7 separate regions of the Homo sapiens genome follow, and all the other regions are linked to region 7. The links are contacts of gene promoters, found by promoter capture Hi-C in blood cells and fetal thymus (Javierre and others, 2016). All regions are on one chromosome and are shown on one strand. Each heading gives the region's core, a stretch centred on a gene start or on the middle of the fragment in contact. The rest is flanking DNA. Distances are from core to core; before and after follow the strand shown.

Region 1 (3,818 bases), core at 593-3,092, 1.7 Mb before region 7:
CCCAGGAGTTTGGAGCCTTTCCCAGCCTCTTGCTTGTTGGTCTCGGATGGCAGTGTTGAGTGATCTGAGGGCCTTAGGGTCTTCCCTTGGGCTGACCCGGTCCCGGGTTGCTGGGTGGAACGTGCTGTCTCACCACCTGCTTGGATCCCCCTGGGCCTGTCCGTCTTGGGGGTCAGTGGGGCCATGGTGGGCAGCAGCAGAGGGCGGGAGGGAGGGCGGGCAGCTTGTACTCTAGTGCCACTGCGGTCACTGCCTGTGGTGGGGTCTGGGAAGGTGCCATCCCTCACCTGTCTGGCTTCCTTTGTTTCCTTGGGATGAGGGTCCCTGTGGGACCTTCCTCCCAGGGCACTGGTGAGACCCAGGAGGGCCAGGCAGGTGGCGGGGTTGGGCACGCTCTTGAGATGGCAGGTGAGAGCCCTCGCAGCGCCCTGGTTCCTGCTGTGTCCCCACTGTTGCCTTCTGTCCTCAGCACCTCTGCAGGCTTTCTCCTTTCCCTCATGGTAACTCACGGGCTTGCCCTCCGCACTCAGGCCTGGCTGACCCGAGGGCACCGTCCTACACAGACCCTCTGGGTCATGTCACCTGGGCAGGCCCTGATCTGCCACCCCAGGCACTGGTGGGAGCCTGACCTCCACACAGCCCGAGGGGCCCTGGAGTTTTCTGGCTGTCATTGTGTTGCTTTTATGCAAGGTGGTCCATTTTGTTGGTGAATAATACTCTGCCAGTGAAGCGAGTGAATTTCAAAGGTGTCAGTTCCATGTTATTGCTCAAGAAACCAAGGTCCCCACTGCTGAGTGATGGGAAGAAGGGACCCATCAGCATTCACAAAGGGACAGTGGCACAGCAAGGAGGAACGTGTAGTCGGGAGGAGCGCCCTCACCCTCACCCCCATTCTCTCACCCCTGCAGAAAGTGCCAGCGATGCCGCCCCTCTGCAGAGGTCCCAGTCTCTCCCACACTCGGCCACCGTCACGCTGGGTGGCACATCTGACCCCAGCACTCTCAGCAGCTCAGCGCTGAGCGAAAGAGAGGCCTCCCGGCTCGACAAGTTCAAGCAGCTGCTTGCCGGCCCCAACACGGACCTTGGTAAGCACCCTGCCCTCTGGAGGACACACACAGACATTTCTTGCTGTTTCTGAAATAGATCACATCTTAAAGGATTCTATGTATGCTTATGTAATGCACACGCGTCCGTGTGTAATTTGCCTTGCAGGAAGGTGATGTTTTCATGTAATATTTTCAAGTCAGTCACTAAGGTAGTAGCAATTTGTGCTTTAGACAAGTTTTGTTAATGTTTTTCCCATGCAATTTGAAAATGTATTTTGCGTTCCTTTTTGTTTTCTTTTTTTAAAATTTGAGACAAGGTCTTACTCTGTTGCCTGGCTGGAGTGCAGTGGTGTGATCATAGCTCACTGCAACCTGGAATTCCTGGGCTCAAGCAATCCTCCTGCCTCAGCTTCCTGAGTATGTGGGACTACAGGATTGTGCCACCATGCTCACCAGATTTTTTAAACAATTTTTTCTACAGATACGGGTCTGCCTGTGTTGCCCAGGCTGGTCTTGAACTCCTAGGCTTAAGAGATCCTCCTGCCTCAGCCTCACAAAGCACTGGGCTTAAGGCGTGATCCACCACGCCTGGCCCATTCTGTTTTCCTGTTGTCCCATTTGCACTCTTTATTATTGCTGCCCTTGGTGAGCCCTTCGAGGCTGGCCAGGTGGACATCCTTGTTCTTGACAGTATTCTGAAGACAGTGGCTCATGGGGGCACAGCGCTGGTGACCATCAACTCAATCTGCTGGTTTTGTACTTTCCTACCATGGGGCTTGCAGTCATCAGAGGGTGACAGGCTGTGAGCCCTGCAAGGGGGCAGGGGTGAGGCTGGGGCAGAGGGGCAGGCCCACAGGGCAGAGCACAGTCACCAGTGTGACTCTTCCTGCGCGAGTTGCTTCCAGGCACACGCAGTGCCCATGTGGACTGCCGTGGCCAGGCTCTGTGGAACGCACTTGCTTTCAGTTCCTCTGGTGGAATTCCTGCTGAATCCACGTCCTTCCTTTCCCTATCTCATCTTTGTGGAGTGCCACTCTGGCTAGGTGTTTGCTAGACGCTGGAGCTCTCGGGAGGACCGGAATGTGGCCTTGGTCATGAGATTGCTTCATTGAGGGGACAAACCTGTATCACACAGTTATGACTGGTGTCACTGTGGCACTCTAAGAGCCAGAGGTGCAACGCCTGGCTTGGCCAGGAGGTGGCGAGTGGCGCACGCGGATGGGCCGCCAGGAGCCACGCAGGAGCCATGCAGGGGCCATATAGGAGCTTGCAGCAGCCGGGCCTTCACGCTCAAGCCCAGGGCAGGGAGAGGGTTTCCGGGCAGAAGCAGCGGTTCAAAGGGCATGGCTGAAGCTGTGTTCTCGAGGCGGGGGAGGGCTCTTGGAAGGTCTCCTGGCTAGAAGGACACAGCTCTGAGTAGAGTTCTCAGAGTGGGTGGTTGTTTCTTCCTTATGTTTGTTTTTTTTTGAAACAGCAACACTTGCATGTGTTATAACATGACACAGCACAGCAGGGTGTATGTGAAAATGAGGCCTGTCCCAGCCCCCACCTTCCCTTCCTTTCCACAGCTCGAGGTGTCTCCTTCCAGCGATGGCCCATGCATCTGTTGTTTTAAACGTTTCGTGTTGATGCAATTCAAACTTGCAGAACAGTTGGCATGAATAGTGCCAACAACTCCCATATGCTCTGTACCCAGAATCACCAATTGTTTACGTTTGCCCATTACCATTCTGCATGTGTGTGCCTGTTTTTGTGTGTATATATACATTTTTTTCCTGAACCATTTGAGAGTCAGTTGGAGATATATCCCTTTACCTCTGAAACCTTCGCTGCATATTTCCTAAGCACAAAGACATTCCCTCAGTATCATCACAGCACAGGGGTCACAATCAGGAAATTTAACGTTGACACAGTACTATTTTAACACTTGTATTATTTTCATCCACAGTCCATAGTCACATTCTGCCAGTTGTCCCAGTAATGTCCTTTCCCTCTTTTTTCTTAGTCCAGACTCCAGTGGGGACCATGCGTTCCATTTGGATGTCACGCCTCTGTCTTCTCCACTAACCTGGCGCAGCAGCTTTGCCGGTCTCTGCATTTCCATCTTGACACTTTAGCAGAGCACGGGCCAGTGATTTTGTGGGATGTCCCTTGGTTTGTGCTTGTCTGATGTTTGCCCACAATGAGATTCTGATTGATAATTTTTGGCAGGAACATCACTGAAGGGATTCGTGTTCTCCTTGGTCATCACAGCGGGGGCACGTGGTGCTGGTGGGTCCTCACGTTGAAGATGTGGACTCCGATCACTTGGTTGAGGTGGCGTCTGCCAGCTCTTTCCACTGAAGAGCTCCCCTTTTTCCTTTGGTGATGAAGTGCTCTGTAGAGAGATGCTCTGGGGTCTGTGCATTTCTACAGTGTATTTCTTTGTCCCCTTGCACGGCAAGGCAGTTGTGCACCTCACTTTTTAAGGGAATGATACATTTTCCCATGGCGTACGTGGAGAACCGCCTTAGTCTTTAGAGTGCCCTGTAACATGCCATCCTATGGATTTCCCCCGACTTGACTGCACCAGCCCCTGCGGTTGGGCAGCGGGTTATTCCTAACTTGCTATTATTACAAACAACTTGAGAACGTTTCTTCAGGCGCCTGAACCTCCTTCTGTGATGGTGACACAGAGCATCCCTAGCCATGGGTGAGGCGAGAAGGCAGTGTGGGGGATGGGTCTGTGAGTTCGCCTAGAGCACCAGGTGTGGAGGTGTCACCCACCAAGAC
Region 2 (4,068 bases), core at 78-2,577, 1.7 Mb before region 7:
AGGACGCCTTGCACATAGTAAGTACTAAGTCAATGTTACTTACCAGTAAATGAAGAGGCATGGGAAATTGTTATTATTTTTGAGACGGAGTTTCGCTCTGTCGCCCAGCCTGGAGTGCAGTGGCACGATCTGGGCTCACTGCAAGCTCTGCCTCACGGGTTCACGCTATTCTCCTGCCTCAGCCTCCAGGGAAATTCTTAATCAGAAAATATGTCTTAGATTTTTGTTTTAAAAGAGAACTGGCAGGAGCTCCAAATACACTAAAGCTCCAGTCTGAAATGACAGTCCCTGAGCATTCAATCTTTGGTCTAAGAAGCACAGAAATGTAATGCAAACCAGACACGGTTTTTTTAGTGATTTTCTGCACACACACACACACACACACACACACACAGTAAAAAGATCTAGTCATAACGTGTGCACCTGCAGTTCCAACTACTGGGGAGGGTGAGGCAGGAGGATCACTAGAGGGCAGGAGTTCGAGACTAGCCTGGGCAACATAGCAAGACACCCACCCCCAGTCCCCCCCGGAAAAAAAGAATAAAAAAGGTAAAAATAATTTTAAAAAGAGTAAAAGGAATGTAAAAATAATTTTAATGCATTTTATTTAATCCAATACATTAAAAATGTTACCTAACATGCAAACAATATACAAATTATTTTATACGACGTCTTTGGAATCCTGTATTTTACACGTAAAGCGCATCTCACTCCGGACTAGCCAGGTTTCAAGCACGTGATAGCCGCACAAGGCTGGAACCCAGGCCTGGGGAATTAATTCTTGTCCTCGGTGCTCAAACCATTCTTCCCTTCAAGCCTGGCCTAATCCCCAGTCTCTCTCATCTCTTCGAATACGCTCCGCGGTTATGCCCCTCACCTCACTGCACTGCAAATATTTCGTCCACTGAGTATTTGCTGATCGTCACTCAGTGCCGGGTGACCCAGCTTGACCAGCACCCGCAGCCGCCCTGCCACTGTTGGGCCGGGTATGGTGTGTCTGGCTTCCCTCTGTTCTGGGCCGGCTCCGAAACGCGCTCAAGAGAAATCGGAATCAGACACGGGGCAGTTCAGCTTTGGAAATGAGGAGCTCGAGGCTCCTGGGAGTCCGTTGCGGGCAGGTGGGCGCCGCTGTTGTGTCGGGAGAGCCAGGAGCGACAGACTCAAACTCAGAAACCCAACCACCTCCGCTCCCTCCGCGATGCGTGTAACGTGCGTTGCGCGGCGTCGCCCTTTAATAACGACGGGCGCTCGGAGTGCTGCGTCACTCGCCACCAGGGACTTAGGCGGGACTTCCGGGCGCGCGTAGGCACAACTTCCGGAAGGAGGCGGAAGAGCTTCTCGGCTCTAGGCTCTGGAGTCCCGGGAGCAGTGAGGGGCCACCCGGGGCACAGGAAAGGGCCGCTAGGGGAGGGCCGGGTGCACTCGGGGTGTCTGGGCCGCGGGTCTGAGGGATGAGGAGGGGCCATGGCCAGCGACGGGGCCAGGAAGCAATTCTGGAAGCGCAGCAACAGCAAGCTCCCGGGCAGGTGGGTGTGCCGCGGAGGGCCAGGTCGGGGTCAGGGGTCAGAGGTCAGGTGGCCGCGTTGGCCTCCTGGGCTGCGGGTGGAGTCGGGGGTCTGGAGAGGGCAACTTGGACTCTGAGGAGACTGCTGGATGGTGTGACGGGCGTTGGGGGGCTCGGAGGTCGGAGCGTGGGGTCTGGGGGTGACAGTGGCTGCACGTAGGATCGAGGCTTGCAAGGACGAGGAGGAGCTATTGGCGTTTTTCCTGACACTGGCAGGCTTCTTTCCGAGAAACTCCTGGGCTCCTTGGGGAGGCTGGAAGGAACTGATTCGGGTCATGCTGTGAAGTTTGGTGGAGTCCGGAAGCTGGCCGGGCTGAGGCCCCCCGTCTGCTGGGTGGATCAGTTTCTGCAGGGGGTGTGGTGTTTTTGACCCACTTGATTTGCCTGTGGTCTCTTGAGGGCTGCGGCTCTTGCCTTGAGCATAGAAGAGGACTAGAGTTTCCCTGTGAGTTTCCATGTTTCTGCTTGCTGGTGTCAAAACCACCTCCTATGTTGTGTTAGCAGGAAGTTTTTTTTTTTTTTTTTTTTTTTTTTTTTTTTTTCTTCGGCTGGAATGACCTGGGTACACCCTAGATGCTATACAGCTCCAGAGCTCCAGAGTCCTTGTCTGATTGCTGTGGCGCTGAGCTATGCCAGGGCCCTAGGGAATGAGACATTACGTGGAGGGTACCTAGGATAAAATCAGCCACTGGTGAAAACAGATCAGAGATAAGCAAACGTCAAGATTTCAGAACATAGTTCTGTTCCAAAGCTGAAGTCTGGAATGCTGAAAATTATGAATTGTGTTACGAAGATAAGTCTGAGTAGAATCATTCATAAACACAGTAAAATGGTTTGTACTCCTGTTTCATAATAAATATTATTGTTTGAGTGTTTGAATGATAAACTTTGGAATTTACTGCATCCAGTTAGAAAAGTTTACTTTTGGCCAGGTGTGGCGGCTCACGCCTGTAATCCCAGCACTTTGGGAGGTCGAGGTGGACAGATCACCTGAGGTCAGGAGTTTGAGACCAGCCTCACCAACATGGAGAAACCTAGTCTCTACTAAAAATACAAAATTAGCTGGGCATGGTGGCACATGCCTGTAATCCTGGCTACTTGGGAGGCTGAGGCAGGAGAATCACTTGAACCTGGGAGGTGGAGGTTGCAGTGAGCCGAGATCGTTCCATTGCACTCCATCCTGGGCAATAAGAGCGAAACTCTGTCTCAAAAAAAAAAAGGAAAGTTTACTTTTAAGAGTGATCTGGGGGTTAGCAGCGTGAGTTACTGACAGCTCAGACAGTGGCTTTGAGAATGAAGGGAGTCATCAAAGGTGGCCGGAGACCCTATTCGACTCCACAGGACCGTGCTTGATTCGAGAACAGTAAGACCTTTCAACAAAACCAGTGTCAGGGTCCAAGGTGAGTGAAGATTCTGGAATGGTGGTGGGTAGGAGGTCCTGGTAGTGACAGGAACAAATGCTGTAGAACATAAGAGTCCAGGGAAGAGGAGCCACATGACAGTGTAACTTTTATGTGTTACTTTTAGGTCTTAAGGTTTTGGTTCCTCATCAGTCTAAACTCTAATTCTTAATCAGCTTAGATGTAAGAATAACAGAGCTGCTGTGTGGAGTTACAGCAGTGACTCAACCTTTGGATTGAAGGCTGTGGCTCTTGGTAATTTGTCCTTATACTGAGTTGAATTTATGTCCATCTGGAAACTATGGATGTGACATTTGGAAATAGGGTTTTTGCACAAGTAATCAAGGTAAAATGAGGTCATACTGGATGAGGGTGGGCCTTAGTTCGTCAACTAGTATTTTTATAAAAAGAGGGAAATTTGAATACAGAGAGACACACACAGGGAAATGGCCCTATGGAGACAGAAACAGAGATTGGAATAGTACATTTACAAGCCAAGGAAAGCCAGGGGTTGCTGGCAGCCACCAGAAGCTAGAAGAGGCAAGGAAGGATGCTCACCTAGAGACTTGACAGAGAGCATGGCCCTGCAGATGACCACTTGATTTTGGGTTTTTGGCGTTTAAAACTGAGAGAGAATAAGTGTCTGTTGTGTTAAGCCATTCAGTTGGTGGTAATTTGTTATGGCAGCCACAGGAGACTAATACAGTCTCCAGCTTTCTTCTGTGTGAACCTGAAATACCGAACACCAGCTTTCCTTTTCCTCTGACTTTGATGCTATTCTGTGTCTTAGGCACTTTTGAGAGCAGCTTCTGTATTACCTTTGTGAAGTTGGAGTCTTGGAGAGTTCGAGGCTGTCACTGAAGAGGGCAGAAGAAGAAGGAGAGGTTGGGTGCACCAGGAAGGCCTGTGAAGCCTCTGTGTCTCCCATCCGTCTTGTGGCTCAAGCCTCTGGCAGTGCTGCTCTTTCAGGTGGCAGGCTGGAACTCTTCCCTGAAGGAGGAGTCACAGAGGGGTGCCCGTTTTCCTATCAGTAGTGGTGATTGGTCACTAGCTGCGTATTTATTTAGTCCACACCTATGCAAGCACAGTGCTAGTGGAGATCCT
Region 3 (4,260 bases), core at 1,408-3,907, 1.8 Mb before region 7:
TGGTCACCTGGAGCTCCAGGGCTGCTCCTGCCTCATCTCACAGGTCCTCCTAGGGCCAGTTTTTGCACAATTCTCCACCTCTCATCATTCCTCAACCTAATCAATCCCAGTGTGCCCAGATACACCTGGGGGAATGGGGAGGGCTGGGCAATGCCACCTTGCTGACCAAATTAAATGTCCTGTGAGCTGGTTCACATTCTTCTGCCCTACTATGGCCCTACTGACCTCAAGCATAGAAGAATCGAACCTGGGCCTGATTCCTTTTGGGGACTGTAAAGCTATGAGAAAAAAACTAGAGACAGTGTGGCTGTATTCCTGAACTCATTCACAACTTAGCGTTTCCCAACTTGTTGATGTTTTCCCATTGCATGGGAGAGCACTCCTGGGTGGAGAGGGCAGGCTGCTTCCTGGAGGAAGCCCACCAGCCAGGGCCACCAGCCAGGGCCCCACCATCCATGGCCCCACAAACCAGGGCCCTCCCTCTCCAAGAGGGACCAAGCTCCTGGCAGGCCAGTCAGGCAGCTCAGGATGAACCCGCACAAAAGCACCTTGGCTTAGCAAGAGTGAAGCAATTAGCATGCCAAGAGGCAAACCCCAGCAGGCTGGACAAAAGCAGACGCCACACCACACCAAGCCCTGACCTGGGGGACCAGAAACCATAATGGGAGCTGGCTGGGGACGCCAAGGCAGAAAGCAGTGATGACTGACCTCCCACACAGATGCCCTGTAAGGGTCTGGCGTCTCTGCGGCGGCTGGAGCCTGAGGGAAGCCTTACAGCCCAGTGGCTACAAGCACAGCAGCTAATTGGGCCAGTCACTTCCAGCCCCTGCAGATCGGCCCCTGCATCCCTAGGACGGGAGCAGCTGCCTCTCAGGAACCCATCCGGTTTGAAGCCCAGTGGCCCGCACTTAGGAAGTGCTTGGGGGAGGCAGTCATCTTCCTGAAGCCTAGGGATTTACAACAAAGTACAAACCCTTCGGGCCCAGGTCAGGCACCTGTTCTCCTTGTGTGTGGGCCCTGGTGGGTGATATTTGGGGTGTGACATTTCTACCAAAGGGGACATGAGAAATACCTTAGGAAAGTCAAGTCTCAGATGCCCAGCCACAGATAGGTGACCCCAGGGCTGGAAACCAAGTGTTGGTCATGGGTCTGAGACCACCCCTCGACCTTGGCCCCACCTAACGTTCAACTCTGTCCCCACCAGAACCCAACCCACAGATCCTCACCACTCAGCACCAGAAAGCGCCCAGAAGAACTCCTGACCTCGACTGCCCACAGGGTCTAAAGGTGTCATCCCAGGCTCCGAATATCCACCAGAGAATCTTGGCCTCCGCCACACCCACCCCATTCCAGCTCCGCACATCCAGCATGAATCCTGGCCTCTGCCACACCCACCCCAATAATTAAAAAGAAAAAAGGCTGGGTGCGGTTGCTCACACCTGTAATCCCAGCACTTTGAGAGGCTGAGGTGGGCAGATCACCTGAGGTCAGGAATTCAAGACCAGCCTGGCCAACATGGTGAAACCCTGTCTCTACTAAAATACAAAAATTAGCCGGGCGTAGTAGCGGGCTCCTGTAATCCCAGCTACTCCGAGGCTGAGGCAGGGAGAATTGCTTGAACCCAGGAGGCGGAGGTGCAGTGAGCCAAGATCGTGGCATTGAACTCCAGCCTGGGCAACAGAGCAACACTCCGACTCAAAAAAAAAAAAAAACAAAAAACAAACAAAAAACAACAAAAAACAAAAACAAACCCTCTGTCCTCCTGCAGGGCTCTCTCCAGGGTGGGCTATGCGTCCTCCATGTTTACCAAAGTCACTCTTCTCCTCATCCGGAGGGCCTCTGCGGGGCAAGTAGCCAACCCGTGGCACGGAAACCAATTCCCCCATCCCGAGCAGGGAGCACACCCCACAGAAAGTCAGGGGCCCCTTCTTTAACTTCTTAACAGGAAGTCCTCACCCTGCAAGGGCGCCTCTCAGGTTTCGGATCCCTGCTAAAGAAAAGCATCTGTTCTTGGAGTAAACTGCAATGCGCGCGGTGGGGAGCGCCTGGCACCCCCCCTCGGGATCCATCCACAGTCCGTCTTGTCCAGAGGTGCCCTGCGGACAGACCGCACCGGGGGCCACGACCCCGCGCCCCGGGTCCCACCTCCCCGCGGGGATGGGGCGCCGGCCTCCCCTCCACTGCGCGGCGCTTTGTCCTCGGGTTCCCGGAGCAGACGGCGGCGCACAGCCCGGCCCCTGGCCCCGGCCTCCCTCCCGCCTGCCCCGACCCCTCCCTGGCGCCTGCGCTCCCAGGGCCCCCGGCCTTACCACAGCCGCTCGCTCCCTGCACCCGGTCCCCCCAGCCGGGTCCCCCAAGCCGCCCCCGCTCCCTGGCCAGGTCCGGCCGAACCCGGGCGGCGGCGACACTCACCCGCGCCGGGGGCGCCGGCTCCGGGCCCCGGGCTCCGCCACCAGCGCAGCAGAGCCCGCGCGGGCTCCAGGCTCACGGCGCAGCGCTGCTGCTTCACCCACAGCACGGATTGCAGCGGCTCCGCCGCCCCCGTCGCCCCCATCTCCGCCGCCGGGCTCGTCCGCCAGGCTGGGGGCGCGCGGACGCCGAGGGGCGCCGGACCGTTAGCGGCCCCTGCAGTGGCCCGGGCGGCGGGCGGCGGGCGGCGGGAGGCGGCGCTGCGTCACCCCGTACGCGGGCGGCGGGGACCGCGGAGGGGACGGGCGGGGCGGGGGCGAGGAGGAGGCGTGGGTAGAGGAGGGGCCGGGAGCCAGGGAGAGACGGGGGGACCCGAGAAGGGGAGAAGAGGGAGGAGGAAGGGGCCGGGATGGGGCTGGCCGAGGCCAGGGCGCTGGGGCCGGGAGGCGGCTGCCTTTCTCTCCTCTCTTCTCCGGCGGGTGCCGGGTGCTGAATCTGGCGCTCCCGCGGCCGGCCGGGACTCAGTGGCGCCTTCCGCGCGGGCCTCGGTTCAGGCGGGGTCCGGGCGGCGTGGAAACGCAGTCCTGGCGATCGGGCGCGGCGGGGGGCGGGCCTGGATGGGGGCGCCACGGGCGACGTGACCTTGGGCGGCGGGTGCCCTCTACGATCCTGGCGTCCTGTCGGCCTGGGAGGGGGCCTGCAGCTGGGCCCCGACAGGCAGGTAAGGCTTTCAGGAGGCGGAGGTCTTTTTAGGGGGCGGGGGCGCTGGCCCTTTGAACTGCTCTGGGGCCTGAAGCCACAGAGCAGACAGCTGAGCAGCCGCCCCCGAGCTGGCCCTAGGAACCGGAGCCTGGGCCCCAGACTTGGAGAGACACGGCCCCTGTGGCCCCAATTCACCGCCTCCCCAGGAAGGCCTCCTTGACCCCACAGCTGAAGGAATCACCAGCCTGCAGGGACTCCAGCCCTGCCTTCAGAGCACGCCGTGCGCCTTCATGCAAGCTCCAGTCTCTGCGTCCGCAGTGCTTAACACAGCCCCATAGGAAGCAGCCACAACCTGGTTCGGAGGGCACATCCCTCCCTGATTTATCAGTGAAGACTGTGCTCACAGAGGTTAAGTCACTTGCCCAAGAGCACAGGGCTCCAGTGTGGCAGAGCCTAGGCTCACACTGACACTGCCTGGATGTGACACTGAGGTCTGAGGCCTGCCCCTCCCCTCGGCTCCCCTACCCAGCCCTGCTGCTGCAGGCAGAGGTGAGGTGGGCTAGGTCCACGTGGCCTTGCTGCTGTGCCTGGCACCAGGTGGCAGCATATACAGGTCTTACCCTGCCAGCTCCTTGTGACTGTCTTGTCTATAGGGCGGGAACCAGCCATGAATCATTCCTCCCTGGGAGCCCAGCCCCTGTTCAGGCCATGCAGTGAAGGCCCCAGGACAGTCCTGCAGCCACCGTGGGCCCAGTCAGAGTCCTAGCAGGCAGTACCTGATCGTGGCACACAGTGGGGTGTGCAGCAGCGAGGCCTGCCCAGCCTCCTCCCTCCCTCAGCTGCCGCTCTGAGGCCTGGGAAATGTGGATCTGAAACTTACTTGGAAAGAAAAGCTCATGCCAGTGGCAGGAGGGTGCCGCTGCATGCGAAGAGGGTTGGCAGGCAAGGGTGGCATGGGCAGGGGCCCGAGAGCACCAGCGTCCCTACTGGGGACCCCTTCCCTGGGCCTCCCTGTGCTTAGGCTCCCCGTGCCCCTCCCGGCGTATTCACGTTGCTGTCCCCCGGCTGCACGCCTTGGCTTAAAATCCTGCAGCCAGAGGTGGGGGCCCAGAGACGACTCAGAAGTGCTTAGGCCCCGAAGGAGCTCCG
Region 4 (4,047 bases), core at 1,452-3,951, 1.6 Mb before region 7:
TGGAGCCCTCATGGATGAGGTTAGGGCCCTTAGAAAGAGGCCTGAGGAAGTGGGTTCACTCTCTTCTGCTATTTGGCCATGTGAGGACATGACATTTGTCCCTTTTGGCCGTTCCGCCATGTGAGGACACAGCAAGAGGGCCGTTGTCAGACACCTAACCTGCCAGCACCTTGATCTTAGACTTTCACCCTCCAGAATCGTGAGAAAAAATTTTCTGTTCTTTATAAATTATCCAGTCTCAGGTATTTTGTTTTAACAGTACTAATGGAGTGAGACAGTGATATTATTCACCCTTAAAAAAGAAGGTAACCCTGTCATTTACAGCAACATGGATGAGCCTGGGTGACATTATCCTACATGGAATTAGCCAGACCCAGAAGATATTCATCATCTTCCTTATATGTGGAATCCAAAAAAATTGCCTTCCTGGAAGTAGAGAGTAGAATGGTGGTTATCAGGAACTGGAGGGCTGCAAAGTGGGGAGATGTGAGCCAGAGAGTATAAACTTTCGTTTATACGATGAATCAGTTCTAGGGATCTCATGTACAGCATGATGACTATAGTTAACAGTACTGTATGGTATACTTGGAATTTGTTAAGAAAGTAGGTTTTAAGTGTTCTTACCACACACGCACACAAGGTAACTGTAACATGTGAGGTGAAGGATATAATTAACTTGATTTTGGTAGTAATTTCACAATGTCTACGTAAATCTGAATCCCATGTTGAACATCTTATTTGCATACCATTTTTACTTTTTGGTTACATCTGTTAAGCTGGAAAAAAATTGCATCCAGATATTCCTGGTATCCCTAATAATAACATTCTGTATTATTATTTGGCCCATCCAACATGAAACAAGGATAGATGGGTTTGTAAGTTACAGGTATAGGTATTTTTGCTGCAACTTAAAAACTTTTCCTTAATTTAAAACAGGCACCATCAATTTTGCATTCTTTGGTAAAGGCATGAAGAACCCAGAGCTGAAATAACAAGCTGCTTTCTTTGGGGCCATTTGAATGATAGGGACAACTAAGATGTGGGATCTCATTCGGCCAAAAGCCATATAGGCTGAGCAGTCATGGGTTTGGGTCTCTATGGGATCTAAGACTTGGAATTTATTTTTAACATTTTATTTGAAACTTTTCAAACATGGAGAAAAGCTGAAAGACTTGTCATGGCCATCCATTGAGGCCACCATATAGAGTATGTTAGGTCTCCTCCATCTCTCTTTCTGTCTCTGTCTGTCCATCCATCATTCCGTCTCTTCTTTTTGGATGCATCTCAAAGTAAGTTGTAGATATCAGTTCTCCCCGTAAACACTTGAGTATGCATGTCATTAACTTGATTTAGGGTTTTCGTGGAGGTAATATTTACACCATGAAATGTACAAACCTGCAGCACAAAAATCAGTGGGATGAGTTTTAACAAATGCATGACCTGTGCAGCGCGATCTCCGATCAAACTGTAGAACATCAGCCTTACTGCAGAACGTTCTCCAGGGCCCTTTGGCAGTGCACACACTGTGTAGCCACGCCCAGCGGGCAGCTTCGGGAGATGAGTTGGGGAGGGAGGGCTTTGGCGCCCTGACAGGTAGGGATGTTCCAGAGCTGCTGTTGCGTGCCCAGGGCATGCCTTGACAGCATCACAGTTGAATGGAGCAGTGTCTGGGTGACATCGATGAGAAGGGAGCTGAAGGAGGTGCTGCGGCCCATGTTCATGAGGAGATGGAAGGAGTGCAGAATGGCAGGGCTGGGATCCTGATGTACCCTGGGACTTGGCTGTCTCTGAGTGTCTGCAGTGCCTCGAGCACACTGTGCGTACCTGAGGCAGTTGGTGGGAAATGGATTTAGTTCCATGCGTTCAGCTGGGTGGCCGGATTTCAGGGCATCATTTGTGAAATGACCCACTGTAATGTGGTGGTTCAAGGGGAGGCACTGAGCCAGTTCTGCTGCTCGCCTTTAGCTCAGGGTCCTCATCTGTCAAGTGGGAATCACTTGCTTCTGTTGTTACGAGCATTCGGTGTACTAATACAGTAATACAAACCACCACCTGCACAGAGCAGCGCTCAGTCAAGTCAGCTGTTGTTGTTGTCATTGATTTTTATGATAATAACTCCCCTGCAGAGATAAAACAGCCACGGGTATACAGTGGCTGCCCGGCCGGTGCTGCAGCAGCTCTTCCTCCTGGGATGCCAGGGGATTGAGACTCGGCTTTATTCTGAAGCTGTCCCAAATATGAATCATTCACTGTTATTAAGCCACCTCAGCATGCCCCCTTTGTTATCTGGGCCCAAAAGAGCACAGAGTGTGGCCCCCAGTACATTTTGGGTGACGCCTTTACACCCATCCAGCAAGTTGGGGCTGGGAGTGGGTATCACGCGTTCTGTAGATGACGTCTGTAGACTTCTGGGGTTTTTCAATAGAGGGGCCATATTGTTTATCATCTGTTTTGGGGGTAAACGGGGCACTCTTAACAGTTTAAGAGGGGCAGGTGAGCGGTGAACTGGGTAAACTGAGATGTATGATATCCTAGTTCCCTGGGGTGAAGGAGGCCAAGCTTTTCTGTTAATGAAAATAAACTGCATCTCATTCACAGCGGATTGACCTGTGAGCGTAAACACAGCCTGGGGAGTAGCACCCGGCAGCACCCTGTGTTCTCACATCATCGGGAAGGACAGCTGCCTTCCATTCATCATGCTGGCAGATGCCGTTGGCTGTGCTGGGGCCAGAAAGCATTTGGGATGGGGTCAGGACATCTCAAGGCAGATAGATGTTTGTGGGGTTGTTCGGTCTTGAGGGTCACACGGTCTCTGTCTTCTTGGCTGTCATTTGCAAAGGAGTACAAGCTTGGGCTGGACTGGCCAGCCAGCCTTCCTGTGGGTGTAAACATGTGGGTAAGGCATGCTAGATGCTGGGCGTGGGCACTCTGGTCCAAGCACATTCTTATCAAGCCGTTCTAAGCATTCCAAGTAGGAGTCTCATTGAGAAGCATCCCCGTCTGTGGTCTTGCCATGCCACGGTGCCCATGTCCAGCAGTCACTGAGTACACCGTTAACTGCTGTGTAGACCGTGAACTATTCCACTGCGTGCTGCTTCCTTCTCTTCTTACTCTCCTCTTTGGAGAAGTTTATAAGCTTAGTTGCATTTAGTTATAAAGCATCTGGGCAGCCCTGTCTCCCTCTGATTGTACCCCCTGTGGGCATTCATTAAGCACCTCCTCTGTGCCAGGCAGTGTAGCCACCAGCATAAAGCTAGTGACTGAGTGTGTGCCAGATGTCTGTGTGGTTGAGTCGTCAGCTTGACGTGGTGGGACAGAAGTGAGTTTGCAGGAGACTGGGTATAAGGATGGGGAGAGCTTATGGGTGGGTAGAGGAGCACAGCACAGCCAGAGTGAACCAGGCAGAGGTGGGGCCGAGTGATTCCTGGGAAGGGTTGGGCTGAGCTGGATGCTTCCATCTGGGTCCCCCGTGGGGTCTGGAGCAGTCACTTACCCAGTTGTAATGAAGCCCTCCTGCTCACTTGCAGGCATCATAGCAGTTGACGGTCTGAGCACAGTGAGGCTGGCCTGGACGTCTGAGCGGGGTCATCCCAGGCCCAGGGGTCCTACTGGGCTCTTAAGTGGAGAGTGGTAGGAGACTGTTGGGTTGGAGATGCTGCGCCCTCCTTCATGCCAGCAAGTATTGCCTGGGTGGTCTCAAAAGTCCTGTGCCATAGTCAGATTTGGTTTCTAGGACTTCTCCAACTCTGGAATTCTCTGGAGAAGGGAGTCCTGTCTGTGCCTGGAGTCCAGTGGGCCCTGGTGTTTCTTGGTCATACCCTGGCGTCCAGTGACTGTAGTCTTTGATTCCTGCATTATCTGCAGGCGGTTGCCTGTGCCAGGAGAAGGCCATTTTGGTGAGACGAGGAATGTCTTTGTTGATCCGTGGAGGAAAGAACGTAACAGTGGGATATTGAGATTGTTAATCAATTGTTTTAGGATAAATACCCAACTTTCTCTCCTCTTAGCTGATTAGATTCCATCTTTCTCTGTGCTTGAGACGTAAGG
Region 5 (3,985 bases), core at 664-3,163, 1.7 Mb before region 7:
GGCGGAGCCGCTCCGAAAGTCATGCATCACTTAGCGACGGGGACGCCTTCTGAGACATGTGTCCTTAGGTGATTTGGTCCCTGTGTGAACATCACAGAGCACATTTATACAAACCCAGGTAGAGTTAGCGCAGTGTCGCCTGCTGCACACCTAGGCTGTACGGCACCGTCTGTTGCTCTGAGGCTATGTGCCTGTACAGCATGGTACTGTTCTGAATACTGCAGGCAGTTGTCACACAATGGTTGGTATTTTTGTATCTAAACATCTCTAAATATGGAGCAGGTATAGTACAAATACAGAATGAAAGATAAAATGGCATACTCGTGTAGGGCAGCTGGTGCGATTGGCGCTCACGGGACTGGACGGTGCCCTTGGTGGGTCGGTGAATGAAGGGTGAGTGAATGGGAAGGTCTGGGTCCTCACTGTGCATCGTGTAGATGTCATTAGCACTCTACATTTAGGCTCTACTAGATTCATAAACACACCTTCTTTCTTCAGTAGTAAATTAACCTTAGCTTGCTGTGACTTTTAAACTTCATAAACGTTTTGATTTTTAAAAAACTTTTTGACTCCTTTCTATTGACACATAGCTTAGAACACAAATACGTTGTACAGCTGCACCAAGATATTTTTCTTTATATCCTGACTCGGTAAGCTTTTTTCTCTTTTTAAAATTTTTTATTTTTTACTTTTTCAGCTTTTTGTTAAAAACTAAGACACAGACACACACATTAGCCTAGGCCGACACAGGGTCGGGACCGTCAGTGCCACTGGCTTCCACCTCCACATCTTGCCCCAGTGGAAGGTCTTCGGGGGCAATAACATGCATGGAATCATCATCTTCCATGATAACATTGCCTTCTTCTGGAATGCCTCCTGAAGGACTAGGGACTTGCCTGAGGCTGTTTTACAGCTTTTATTGTATTTTGTTTTTTAAACAAGCAGAAGGAACATAACTCTAAAATAATGATAAAAAGTATAGTACAATAGGCCAGGCACAGTGTAATCCTGTAATCCCAGCACTCTGGGAGGCCAAGGCAGGTAGATCACCTGAGGTCAGGAGTTCGAAAGCAGCCTGGCCAACATGGTGAAACCCCGTCTCTACTAAAAGTACAAAAATTAGCCGGGCGTGGTGGTGGGCACCTGTAATCCCAGATACCCAGGAGTCTGAGGCAGGAGAATCGCTTGTACCCTGGAGGCAGAGGCTGCAGTGAGTCGAGATCACACCATTGCACTCCAGCCTGAATGACAAGAGCAAAACTCTGTCTCAAATAAAAAAACAAGTATAATACAATTAGTACAATGAATACATCCATAAAGCAGTAGCATAGTTGTTCATTATGATCAAGTATTACGTACAGTACATAATGTATGTGCTATACTGTTATAGGACTGGCAGTGCAGTAGATTTGCTTACATCAGCATCACCGCAAACACAGGAGTATGCTTTGTGATGTGATGTAACTTTGGCTGTGACATCACTAGGTGACAGGAATTTTTCAACTGCATTATAGTCTTACAGGACCATGGTCCTATATGTGGTCTGTTGTTGACTAAAATGTCGTTATGTGGTGCGTGGCTTGACTTCTCTGTGTTGGACAATTTCTTTCTTTCTTTTTTTTAAAGGTGCCCACCACCACACCTGGCTAATGTTTGTATTTTTAGTAGAGACGGGGTTTCACCATGTTGGCCAGGCTGGTCTCGAACTCCTGACCTCAGGTGATCTGCCCGCCTCGGCCTCCCAAAGAGCTGGAATTACAGACGTGAGCCACAGCGCCTGGCCAGGACAATTTCAAAATACTTCCATTTCCTTCATATTTTCTGTTTTCTATAATAAACACACATTGCTTTTGTTATGTGCGGGAAAAAATCATTGTAAAAATGCTGTTTCCAAGACCTATTTCCAGAGATGTCCGTTTGACCCAGTAATTGCCTCAGCCCCTACTGGGTTCTCAGTGCTCCGAGGGCTGTGAGGAGTGTGACATGAGACAAAATGCAGCCCCTGTAGCAGGGAGTTTGTGGTCCAGAAGCAGCACCACATAGCTGGGAGCCTTGCAGGACAGCGTATGTGTTGCTGCCAGTCAGAGTGGTGTGGGTGTCGGGGCGGGACAGCCCTCGGAGACCCTCTGGTTTGGGTCTCAGGTACCACATGTTTCTGCTGTTGACCCTCGGGGTGGGCACAAGTTTCAGATTATGCTGTGGACGGAGGGGATGGTGGAATTGTTCACTGTTGCCATGATGGTTTTTCGTACATTTTTCCTCCAAAGCTCCTAGAGTTAATTTCCTTGGAAAATTTACTTCTGAATATATTTTATAAATCTGGGGAGTATCACCATGTGTTAGAATGAGCTGAGTGGTAAATTCAGTTGCCAATTTGAGTACGTATTTCAGAAAGCTGCTATTGACCCCTAAGGGGGCACTGAATAATGACTGTGCTTGGAGAAGAGAGGTTGATTAGCCATCAAATGAATTTGACTAGATGACTTGCCTGTTTACTTCATATATGTGAAATACAGAGAAGCATTTAATCGTAAATGTTTCATTTATTTTATGATCCTGAGAACATTGCAGCTGGATTTATTGCTTTTCCATACTTTTATTTTCTTTCACTCTTCCCTGTTTCCCTCACTGCTATTTTCACCTACTGCTGTTTAACCTTCAATTAAAAAAAAAAAAGCTGTTCTGATACACCATCAGGTTTGTTTGAAAAGAGCACCTTGGTGTAGAGGCTTCAAATTCAAACCAGAAAAACATTCTGCAGGATCTGCCAGGGAGAGCTGCCTCCTGTCAAAACCCAGCGGCCTTGCAGCGTTGGCCAGAGTCGCTCTGTCCCTCTTGACTCTGACTTGTCTCTTCCTGCTTCAGAGTCACTTGTATCCTCATGGATTAGCTGCCTTCACTGAGGCGGCCCAAGGACAGGGAGAGGGACTCTCGCTTGTTCACTGTCAGCTTTCCAGGACCAGCCCGGGCCTGGTGTGGAGCAGGTGCCCAGTCAGTGTTTGTTGAGTGACTTGAATGGAGAAACATAACGCAGCGTAGTCAGTAGAAGCTGAAGACATCTGTGTTGCACGCTGCTGTCAGGCAAGGACCAAGTTGGAGGCCTTAGCTATCCAGAAGTAGATTCTCAGCAAGTATTGGATTTTAGTATTTTGTTTATTGTTTTTTTAAATTTAAGCTTTTCTGAATCATGTTGTAAAGACAGCTCTGGGCACAGTCCTGAAGAGTTGGTGTTGATGTCAGGGACCCATTCTCTTTCTCTTGGGCATTTCCCCCTGCCCCGACCCCCACAACTGACCAGTGTCTCCAGCCTGTTCTTATGCCGTGACCCCTCTGCTCTTCTCCCTGGAGGTGCCCTCCCAATTTTGTTTTTTTTTTTTTTTTTAGACAGGGTGTCATTCTGTTGCTGGAGTGCAGTTGCTGGTGCTGGTGTTGCTGGTGTCACTGCTGGAGTGCAGTGGTGCGTGATCTTAGCTCACTGCAGCCTTGACTTCCTGGGCTCAGGTGATCTTCCCACCTCAGCCTCCTGAGTAGCTGGGACTACAGGAGCACACCACCATGCCTGGTTAATTTTTATATTTTTTATAGAGACGGGGTTTCACCATGTTGCCCGTGCTGGTCTTGAACTCCTGGACTCAAACGATCTGCCTACCTTGGCCTCCCGAAGTGCTGGGATTATAGGCCTGAGCCACCACGCCCAACCCCAGTTCTCGTGTTAGACCTTAGTTTACCTGCCTCGCCTGCCATGGGTGTCCTCGGGTTCCCCTTACGAGTGGTGGCATTGCAGTTGCATCTCCCTGTGCCTATGCTGAAAAGGGGAGCTTTGGCCACAATTCTGAGGGCTGTTTTTGGGGAGGGCATGGGGAGGTCTTTTTGGTTGGGGGTCTTCTCCAGGGCACAGCCTCTTGGGGCATCTCTCTGCCGGCCCCTCCCTGGCCTGCCCCGGAGTATCTTGTCCCTTGTGCACATTGTTCCACTTTCACCTGTG
Region 6 (3,754 bases), core at 826-3,325, 1.7 Mb before region 7:
TTACACTCAGTTTTCTGTACTAAGCCTAGAGTGTGTTTCCTACTTAGAGCGTCTCTCAGCTGGACCACTTTTTGGGTGTCCTGTAGCTTCCGTGGCTCGAGGCTCCTGTGTTGGACGGTGCAGGGGTGAAGAAGGGGCTGCTTATGAAGGTGATTTGGATGGTCATTCTGATGGGGTGACAGTGAAGCGTAGACCCAAAGGATGAGAGGAGATAGCCACCTGATGATTTGGGGGCACATAACCCTCTAAGGAGGGGTGTGTGGGGATGAGCTTGGTGTGCATGTGGTCCTTCTCCAAGAAGGCCGCTGTGGCTGCAGTGAAGTGAAGGTGGAGCTTGGAGGCGAGCGAGGAGGGAGGGGAATCAGAGCTGCATCCTGCAGGCCCCTGAGGGCGGTGGAAGGAGGTCACATTCCATGCTAGTTGTGGTGGAAAGCCAGTGGAAGGTTTGAGCTGGGGCTGGCGCGATTCGACTTAGGCTTTCAGAAAGATCCCTGTGGCTTTTCTGTGGAGGTAGGAAGACCAGTTAGGAGGGTGGTGGCTGGAGTCGGTGGAGGTGGAGGAGGTGATGAGAAGTCTGGGGTTTGAGGGGGTGTATTTTAAAGCTGTGGGGAGGAGGCTTGTTGAGGGACTGGGTGTGAAGGATGAGGGAAGGAGGGCCATCAGGAGTGGCTGTTGAGGATGGGGCAACTTGGAGAGGAGCAGATTTGGGGAGAAAAGAGACGGAATTTGGCTTGGGACATGTAAAGCCTGAGGTGCCCTGAGCCATCAGTCAGGGTGTCAAGTGGGCAGCTGGACACAGGTGTGTCTGTAGTGATCTGTAGCCGAGGCAGATGCCAGGATGGGGACGTGGGGTGTGGATGCTGGAGTTACATTGAGACCTGGCCTGCCCAGCATTCTTTTTCATGTGCTGATCTGCTTGGGTCAATACATTTTTAATTCTGCAAAGAAGGGTGGTGCCTGTGTTTTCCCTTAACGCAAGGCATTTGCGTGTGCAGCAGGCGTCAGTGGAGTTTTGGAGTGTCAGGGATAATGTAATAGTTATGTAATAACTTAAAATCGATGACTAAACATCCACGTTCCCCCCAGAGAAATTCCTTTTGCCACCAGGAATTTCTTAGAGGTGCCTTTTTCTTCCTGGGGGTCTGAACCCCGCCGTGCCCATGCCTGTGCTGTGTTTCCTCTCTGCAGGGGCCCAGCTCCCCTCACCAGCACAGGGGACCCGCAATGGCTCTGCCTTTGGAATCTGCCCGTCTCCCTTTACCAGGAGATGCAGAGAACTTTGTTCTCTCCCTTCATATGAATTATATAATACCCACTTGCCAAAAAAGATTACAGTGAATTGTTTTTTTTCTTTTGAGACAGAGTCTCACTCTATCACCCGGGCTGGAGTGCAGTGGCACGATCTCAGCTCACTGCAAACGCTGCCTCCCAGGTTCAAGCGATTCTTGTGCCTCAGCCTCCCAAGTAGCTGGGATTACAAGCATACACCACCATGCCTGGCTAATTTTTGTCTTTTTAGTAGAGACGGGGTTTTGCCATGTTGGCCAGGCTGGTCTCGAATTTCTGGCCTTAAGTGATCCACCCGCTTTGGCCTCCCCAAAGTGCTGGGATTACAGGTATGAACCACCACACCCAGCCTAAACTGAATTGTTTTAAATAAAAATTGCCCTCACATATTGCATATGTAATATGAAAAAACGTTTTTCAAACAGAAGTTCACCTGGGTGATGAGACACTGTGGTGGTCTTCTTTTTTTTTTTTTTTGAAACGGAGTCTTGCTCTGTCGCCCAGGCTGGAGTACAGTGGCGCCATCTCGGCTTACTGCAAGCTCCATCTCCCGGGTTCACGCCATTCTCCTGCCTCAGCCTCCCGAGTAGCTGGGACTGCAGGTGCCCACCACCACGCCTGGCTAATTTTTTGTATTTTTAGTGAGATGGGGTTTCACCGTGTTAGCCATGATGGTCTCGATCTCCTGACCTCGTGATCCGCCCACCTTGGCCTCCCAAAGTGCTGGGATTATAGGCGTGAGCCACCACACCCAGCTGGTGGTCTTCTTTTAACGCTAAACTGTGGCCCTTTGTGTGACTGGATGTTCTTCTGCAAGCCGACATTCGGTACCAATGTGGGGTTCCATTGTTTGGCTGGGCCACACTTTCCTGGCCGCCCCTGTTCTCCATTTGTTTCTTCCAAGTTTTTCCCATTAAACACTGCCTCAGATATCTTAGTACTCACATCTTAGCTCTCATCTCTGGTTATTTTCTTGGGATAATTACTCAATGTAAAATTATTGTTTCCAAAGATATGCCTATTTTTAAGACTTGATCAAGTTTTCTTTTTTCACATCTTATGGGCCATCTGTGTTTCTGCTGTCAATTTCCTGAGCGGATTTTTCGCTGATGGTTTTGTCTTGTCCTAGTGTGTTTGGGAGAGGGCTTTTCGTGTCCTGGTGTCCTGGAAGGTGGATGGGATGCAGGTGGAGCTTGGGCACCCAGGGCTCCTGTGAGGCTCAGCAGGGCCAGCCTGGGTGGAAGCGAGGTCCCGGAGACTGTCCCGGAGCTTGCTTGAGTGCTATGGTCCTACAAAGTGAAGTGTTGTACCCATTTTAGAGATGAGGACATGAGTTTCAGAGGGGTGACTGGACAATCCCATAGCACCCACGCAGCAGAGTCAGGATTTGAACCTGGGCAGACGCTTGCCCCATCCAGAGTGAAACTTGTGGACGCTGTGCAGGACGGTTCCTGGCTTGCAGTCAGCACTCAGATAGCTGTTGAATGAATACACGAAAACGTAAATCTGGTTTTAGTTTCCGTTTTTTTTTTTTTGAAAGACAGATTAGCTCACTGTAAAATCTGTTTTTCTTCCTTTGCCAGGAAGCCATCAACAGAGACTCTTTCCTCTATCCTGTTGTAGAGTTGATTGACAGGGTTCTTTGTGCCTGGAAAGCAAATTATGTTAAAATTATCTTCACGACCTATTTATAAGTGCCACGATTCCTCAGCACTCTTTGGTTATAATCTGTGTCCTCAGGTGAGTGGGGTCTCCCGGGTCCCATGGCGCCCCCTGCCTGTTCAGGTCAGGCTTCTAACTTACCTTGGAGAGTGCTCTGCCCGCCGTCACCACGCGATGGTGTTGTGACCTCACGTGGGGCAAGTCATGCAGGCCGAGTCGGCGTTCCTGAGCTCCCATGCAGCGAATGCATCACCTCGGGAGAAAACTGTGTTCAATGTCCTCTTAATGACGTTGGCATTTTCACCATCGGTGCAGCTTGTGTTTCTAAAACATGACTACCTCACCCACATTGCCTATCCCTAAGGCATTTCAGCCACCCAGAGCCCCTTCGGAATCTGCTTTCCTTTCTCACGGACTTACCTTTTGAACATGCGTGTACCAAATGGTATTTTATAAGTCGTAGTCTTCTCGTATCAAAACGAGTCCTGGCCGCCAGCAGAACGTCTGATCAGCCTAGGTGATCGGCCTGCCCAGAGAGAGCTGCTGTCATTTCCACTTGAGGATGCGTGTGGGCTTGGTCACTTTGTGCAGCCTGGTGGTGTGAGTGAGGTCTCAGCCTTAGGTGGGCTTCTGAAGGGTGACCTATGACTCCTCTCTTCTCTGAGAGTACCTGGGTGGAGCGTACTGGGGTCCCAGGATGATGGATGATGGGCCACTTTCTACTGGGGCGGGCAGTGAAGACTTCATCTGGAGGTGCTTGTCTTATCCGCAGGGACTGTCTGTCTCAACCACGTGAGCAGCGTTA
Region 7 (4,097 bases), core at 1,495-3,994:
GTCACCACAGCCCCTGTCCTTTGGCAAGAAGCCTCCAATATACCCTCCCAAAGTCAAGGTAGACTGCATCTCTCTTCAAACCATATTTTTTAAAGAAAGAAAATTACTATAAACCAAATTATTGGGAGGGCAACCAGCATTTCAAAAATGAATTAGGATACAATAGAAAACATCAGAGTATTTTTGGGGTAAATATTGCTTCGGAAAGTTTCACTCCAAGCATGTTTGTGCATGCGTGTGTGCATGTGTGTTAAAGCATGTGTGTGCATGTATGTGCGTGTGTGTGGATGTGTGTGCCTGTGTGTTCACGTGCGTGTGTGTGTTCATGTATGTGCATATATGTGTGCATGTGTGTGTGTGTTTGTCCTAAGGATGGACCAAAAGGGCCTGGAAACCAGTCTCCTGGAAGCCTTCCCTGGCACACACCTTGCTGTGTTCTAGAGTGTGATTTTAGGGTAAATGCTCCTCTCTTGTGCTCCAAGAGTGCTCTCCTCTCCCTCCCATCGTGACGCTTGCCACACTGCACTGGAATTGTTTGTTTCCTTGTCTGTTTCTCAAACTGACTGTCACTTTCCAGGGGGACAGAAAATCTATGTCTTGTTGGCTTCCCCAGTCCCAGTGCCTGGCCCAAGTAGTTGCTCAATAAACAGAGGTTGAATGAAGGAATGTCTGGCACAGGAGTTCGGGATGGACAGGATGAATTGGAATCTGTAACATTTTAAAAGCCACATCCTTTTTAGCAGGAAAAAAGGCTTCAATGAAAGGAATGAAATTGTAAGGGTGGAGACCTGGGCATCAATGGCTGACTCCACAGAATCCCATTGAGGGAGCCCCTCCCTGCCAGGGTCCCAGGCCCACCCTGCACATCCAGAGGCAAGAGGTACGTCCCTCATGGCCACCCCAAAGTTGTCAGGAGCCCCAACTTCTGCAGAATCACCTCCCTGCCAGGAAAGAGAGCGGGGAGAAGCTGCAGTTGAGAAGATACTAAACAGGAAAGTCAGCGTTTTAATTAAACAGGATTCAAAATTGATGGGAGAAAACAAGCATGGACACAATCATATTAACACAAGAATCCCGTCAGAGCCCCTGGCAAGGAAGCTTCAGTGCACAACAACCACTGGGACGGGGGTTAGAGGACTCGCAGTGAGAGGCTGCCTTTCTTTGCTCAGTTTCTCCTAAAGTGTTGTGTGTGTGTGGATGGGAGAGTGTGTGTGTGTGTGTGTGTGTGTGTGTGTGTGAGAGAGAGAGAGAGAGATTCAAGGAAAATATGTGTGTGTGTGGTGCTGTGTGTGCATTGGGGCATGAATGCTTGCATGCATGAGTTGTGGGTGAGTGTACGGCTGGGGACAGTCCACATCCCTTCACCTCCCTGGACCAGGCCTCAAGATGAAGGGATGATGCTTCTTCTCCCTGGTTGCTCAATCTGACTTGCAGGCCCTCTACTGGCTCCTCAGAAAAGGGTCTCCAGCGCCAAAAGAATCTCCTGGGGTGCTCAAGCCCCCAGCCCTATGCAGGATGGAGAATATCTTGTGAGTTCCAGAGGAGGGGTTCTATTAGTCGTGTGCACGAACCTGCAGGAAGGCAGAGCTTGGGGTGGTGCTGTGGCAGCTACCGGCAGGGGCCAGAGCCTCTCCAGGCAGCAGGGCCATCTGGACATCCTGGACTGGGGAGCGTATCTCCTGGGCTGTAGAGGGAGGTGCAGAGGGGACATGACTAGGAGGGTTGGAGATGGGGAAAGTGTCCTTGTGTCCTTACAAGGCTCATTTTCCCCCCATCCTTTGCTTGTTATAGGAGTGAACCTGTCTTGCAGATGATCGTTGACTATGCAGGTAAAATAGATTGCGATCATTGTCATCCTGCTCAGAAAACCCACCTGGATAGGACCAGTCCTGGGACTGGGAGCCCGGAGACGCCACTGAGAGCCGGTCCTGCAGGGACTCCAGGGAGATGAACCAGGAGATGGCTCAGCAAGGACCAGGCAGTGGCAGAGGTGCCCGAGTAGAGTGATCGTGGGGCAGAGGACTGAGGGAAAGTGCGTGCCTGTGCCTGGCAGTGCCGCCCCAGGTGGAGGAGGAGCCCTCAGGGTGGTGGGCTTCCGATGAAGGGTGACTCTGCTGGGGTCTGAGGCTGTGCTCCCAGTGGACTCAGGGACCCCACTGCACAAGCCCGATTTTGGGTAACAGGGCACACCTAGGGAACAGGCCCAGAGCACCCTCTCCTTGGAATAAACTCCGGATCCAAGTCCCAGAACCCACCTTAGGAGGCGTCTGCCGCCCCCGCCCCCTCCCCAGCCTTCCAGGCCCTGGCTGCGGTGGATGGGGGCGCGGAAGGCCCAAGTGCGCGAACTTCACCTGGCCCGGCCGTCCTCCCCGTGGGGGGCCCAGGCTGCGGGCGCGTCAGGCCGTCTCTGTCGCCATCCGGAGGAGCGGCTTGGGCGCCGCGTCCCCTCTGCCAGGCCCGGGTCGGCGGGCGGCTGGAGCCCCCAGCGGTGGCGGGCGCGCGCCTCTCTCGCGGATGCCGGGGCGCGCGTAGCCGGGGCGCGCAGTGACGCCCAGAGCGGGGCCGGCGTCCCCCTGGCGGGCCGGCGCGGGGTCGGCGGGCGCGGGCGCGAGCGCGGGCGGCGCGGGCGCGGCGCGGGGCGCGGTGGGCCGGGGCCCGGGCGCGGCGGCGGCGGCGGCGGAGGATGGCGCGCGCGGGGCCCGCACGTGGAGGCCGGCGCGGGGGCGCGGGCAGGGCCGGCTGCTGAGACGCGCTGCTGCCCCCCGCGCGGGCGCCGCGGCTTCAATGGCGCCATCGCCCAGGACCGGCAGCCGGCAAGATGCGACCGCCCTGCCCAGCATGTCCTCAACTTTCTGGGCGTTCATGATCCTGGCCAGCCTGCTCATCGCCTACTGCAGTGAGTACCGCGCGGCCCCGGCCCCGGCACGGCCCTCTGGGCCCCGGACCCCCTCCTCCGGCCCCGGCAGGCGCCCCGCGGGCCTCCCGGAGTCGGCGCGGAGTTACGAGCGCCGGGCGCATGGTCCCCCGAGTCCCGGCCGGTCCAACGCTGCGCTGGGCGGGCGAGAGGGTCCACCCGGGTTCCGGGCGCTCGAGCACTTCGGGGTCGGACGCCCCGGCCCGAGCCTCCCTTCCCTGACTCCCCGGCAGGGCCCGGGCTCCAGGCCCCGGGTGGCGCGGCCCGTCCCTGCCCGGCGGTCGGAGCCCAGCCAGCGGCTTCCCGGCCGAGATGCGCGCTCAGGAGGCAGCCGCAGGTCGCGGAGGGCGGGCGGCGCTGCCGGGGTGTCTGCGGAGCGCCCTCCCCGTGCCTCAGCCCGGGACAAGGGGGGAGGCGGCGGCCGAGCCCGGAGAGGAGCTCTTCAGGCAGGAGCCCAGCCTGGGCTCGGAGGAGCAGCTGGAGCTTCCGCTTTCCCGGGAAACGGGCTCGTCAGGCGCCTTCTGGAAAGAGAAGCGAAGTGAGGGATGGGATGCCCGGAGGGGGCTCGCCGCGGCCGCGGACGTTTCTCGGGTCGTGTCTGGGGCCCGAGCTGGTGACCGGCGGGACTGGCGCGGGCGCGGGCTGGGGTGGTGCGGGCCAGTGGGCGCCCGGGCGTGAGCTGAGGGCTGGGGTAGGGGGTGACCGCCGCGGGCTCCCTGTTGCCTGGAGTGAAGGGTGGGGGGTGGCCTGTGCCCCTGCCGAGGCTCCAGGCGGGTGGAATGAGGGGTGGTTGGAGTCCCGGGTGCAGACTCCAGCCTCGGCGCTGGGGAGGGTGCTCAGCATCCCGGGGCACGTTCGCGGCTGGTGGGGTAAGTGGGGGCCGCTCAGCGTCCCGGGCACAGGCTCTGGCCCCAGATGGCGCGGGCTGGTCGGCTTCAGCTCCGGGAGCTCCGGGCTTCTTGTCTTCAGCGGGAGAATAGGACGGGTGCTGGGGAGCACCTGTCATGGAGAATTGCCATGGGCGCGGGAGGTGATGGAAAAATATGGATTCTTTACAAAAAAAAAAAAAAAAGGCCAGCACCGAACCTCCCTCCACAGACACCACCTCCTCCAGAGCCCCGGGCCTCCAAGCTCCCAGTCCGATCTGATCCTTCCGCTGTCGCCAAAATGAGAGCACAGTGGC

Evidence for each region. Contacts are between HindIII fragments. The CHiCAGO score rates a contact against its expected background, and 5 or more counts as called.
Region 1: a contact is called between a fragment that was not itself captured here and the fragment with the promoter of TAFA5 in region 7, in 2 of 17 cell types (endothelial precursors and megakaryocytes). The highest score is 15.6, in endothelial precursors.
Region 2: a contact is called between the fragment with the promoter of TBC1D22A here and the fragment with the promoter of TAFA5 in region 7, in 1 of 17 cell types (endothelial precursors). The highest score is 11.9, in endothelial precursors.
Region 3: the fragment with the promoter of CERK here is called in contact with the fragment with the promoter of TAFA5 in region 7 in 1 of 17 cell types (endothelial precursors); the score reaches 15.2 in endothelial precursors.
Region 4: a contact is called between a fragment that was not itself captured here and the fragment with the promoter of TAFA5 in region 7, in 1 of 17 cell types (endothelial precursors). The highest score is 14.3, in endothelial precursors.
Region 5: a contact is called between a fragment that was not itself captured here and the fragment with the promoter of TAFA5 in region 7, in 1 of 17 cell types (endothelial precursors). The highest score is 5.7, in endothelial precursors.
Region 6: a contact is called between a fragment that was not itself captured here and the fragment with the promoter of TAFA5 in region 7, in 1 of 17 cell types (endothelial precursors). The highest score is 5.8, in endothelial precursors.

Annotation. Positions count from the first base shown.
Region 1 is chr22:46,796,536-46,800,353 of GRCh38, forward strand. TBC1D22A (TBC1 domain family member 22A) reads left to right here. Exons shown (of 13, transcript NM_014346.5): 4 at 909-1,085. Among named protein-coding and RNA genes, the nearest start is that of TBC1D22A, 36 kb to the left of the region's middle. RefSeq lists an enhancer at 1,782-2,282. The HindIII fragment of the contact is 5,305 bases long and covers 1-3,818 here.
Region 2 is chr22:46,761,323-46,765,390 of GRCh38, forward strand. It overlaps TBC1D22A (TBC1 domain family member 22A), which reads left to right and starts at 1,328. Exons shown (of 13, transcript NM_014346.5): 1 at 1,328-1,526. The coding sequence starts at 1,465. TBC1D22A-DT (TBC1D22A divergent transcript) reads right to left here and starts at 1,206. Exons shown (of 1, transcript NR_186691.1): 1 at 589-1,206. RefSeq lists enhancers at 375-1,209, 946-1,075, 1,776-1,855, 2,786-2,855, 2,896-2,975 and 1 more and a silencer at 1,976-2,035. The HindIII fragment of the contact is 21,480 bases long and covers 1-4,068 here.
Region 3 is chr22:46,735,595-46,739,854 of GRCh38, forward strand. It overlaps CERK (ceramide kinase), which reads right to left and starts at 2,658. Exons shown (of 13, transcript NM_022766.6): 1 at 2,413-2,658. The coding sequence starts at 2,554. It overlaps LOC105373077 (a long non-coding RNA gene), which reads right to left and starts at 798. Exons shown (of 2, transcript XR_001755593.2): 1 at 709-798. RefSeq lists enhancers at 470-1,043, 1,731-1,900, 3,139-3,797, 3,171-3,500 and a silencer at 2,051-3,010. The HindIII fragment of the contact is 34,881 bases long and covers 1-4,260 here.
Region 4 is chr22:46,841,219-46,845,265 of GRCh38, forward strand. The region is part of intron 4 of TBC1D22A (TBC1 domain family member 22A); the gene reads left to right. Among named protein-coding and RNA genes, the nearest start is that of TBC1D22A-AS1, 73 kb to the right of the region's middle. The HindIII fragment of the contact is 289 bases long and covers 2,558-2,846 here.
Region 5 is chr22:46,777,776-46,781,760 of GRCh38, forward strand. All of the region lies in intron 1 of TBC1D22A (TBC1 domain family member 22A), which reads left to right. Among named protein-coding and RNA genes, the nearest start is that of TBC1D22A, 17 kb to the left of the region's middle. The HindIII fragment of the contact is 2,520 bases long and covers 654-3,173 here.
Region 6 is chr22:46,824,137-46,827,890 of GRCh38, forward strand. All of the region lies in intron 4 of TBC1D22A (TBC1 domain family member 22A), which reads left to right. Among named protein-coding and RNA genes, the nearest start is that of TBC1D22A, 63 kb to the left of the region's middle. RefSeq lists a silencer at 3,110-3,268. The HindIII fragment of the contact is 9,408 bases long and covers 1-3,754 here.
Region 7 is chr22:48,486,809-48,490,905 of GRCh38, forward strand. It overlaps TAFA5 (TAFA chemokine like family member 5), which reads left to right and starts at 2,745. Exons shown (of 4, transcript NM_001082967.3): 1 at 2,745-2,896. The coding sequence starts at 2,785. The HindIII fragment of the contact is 4,041 bases long and covers 1,097-4,097 here.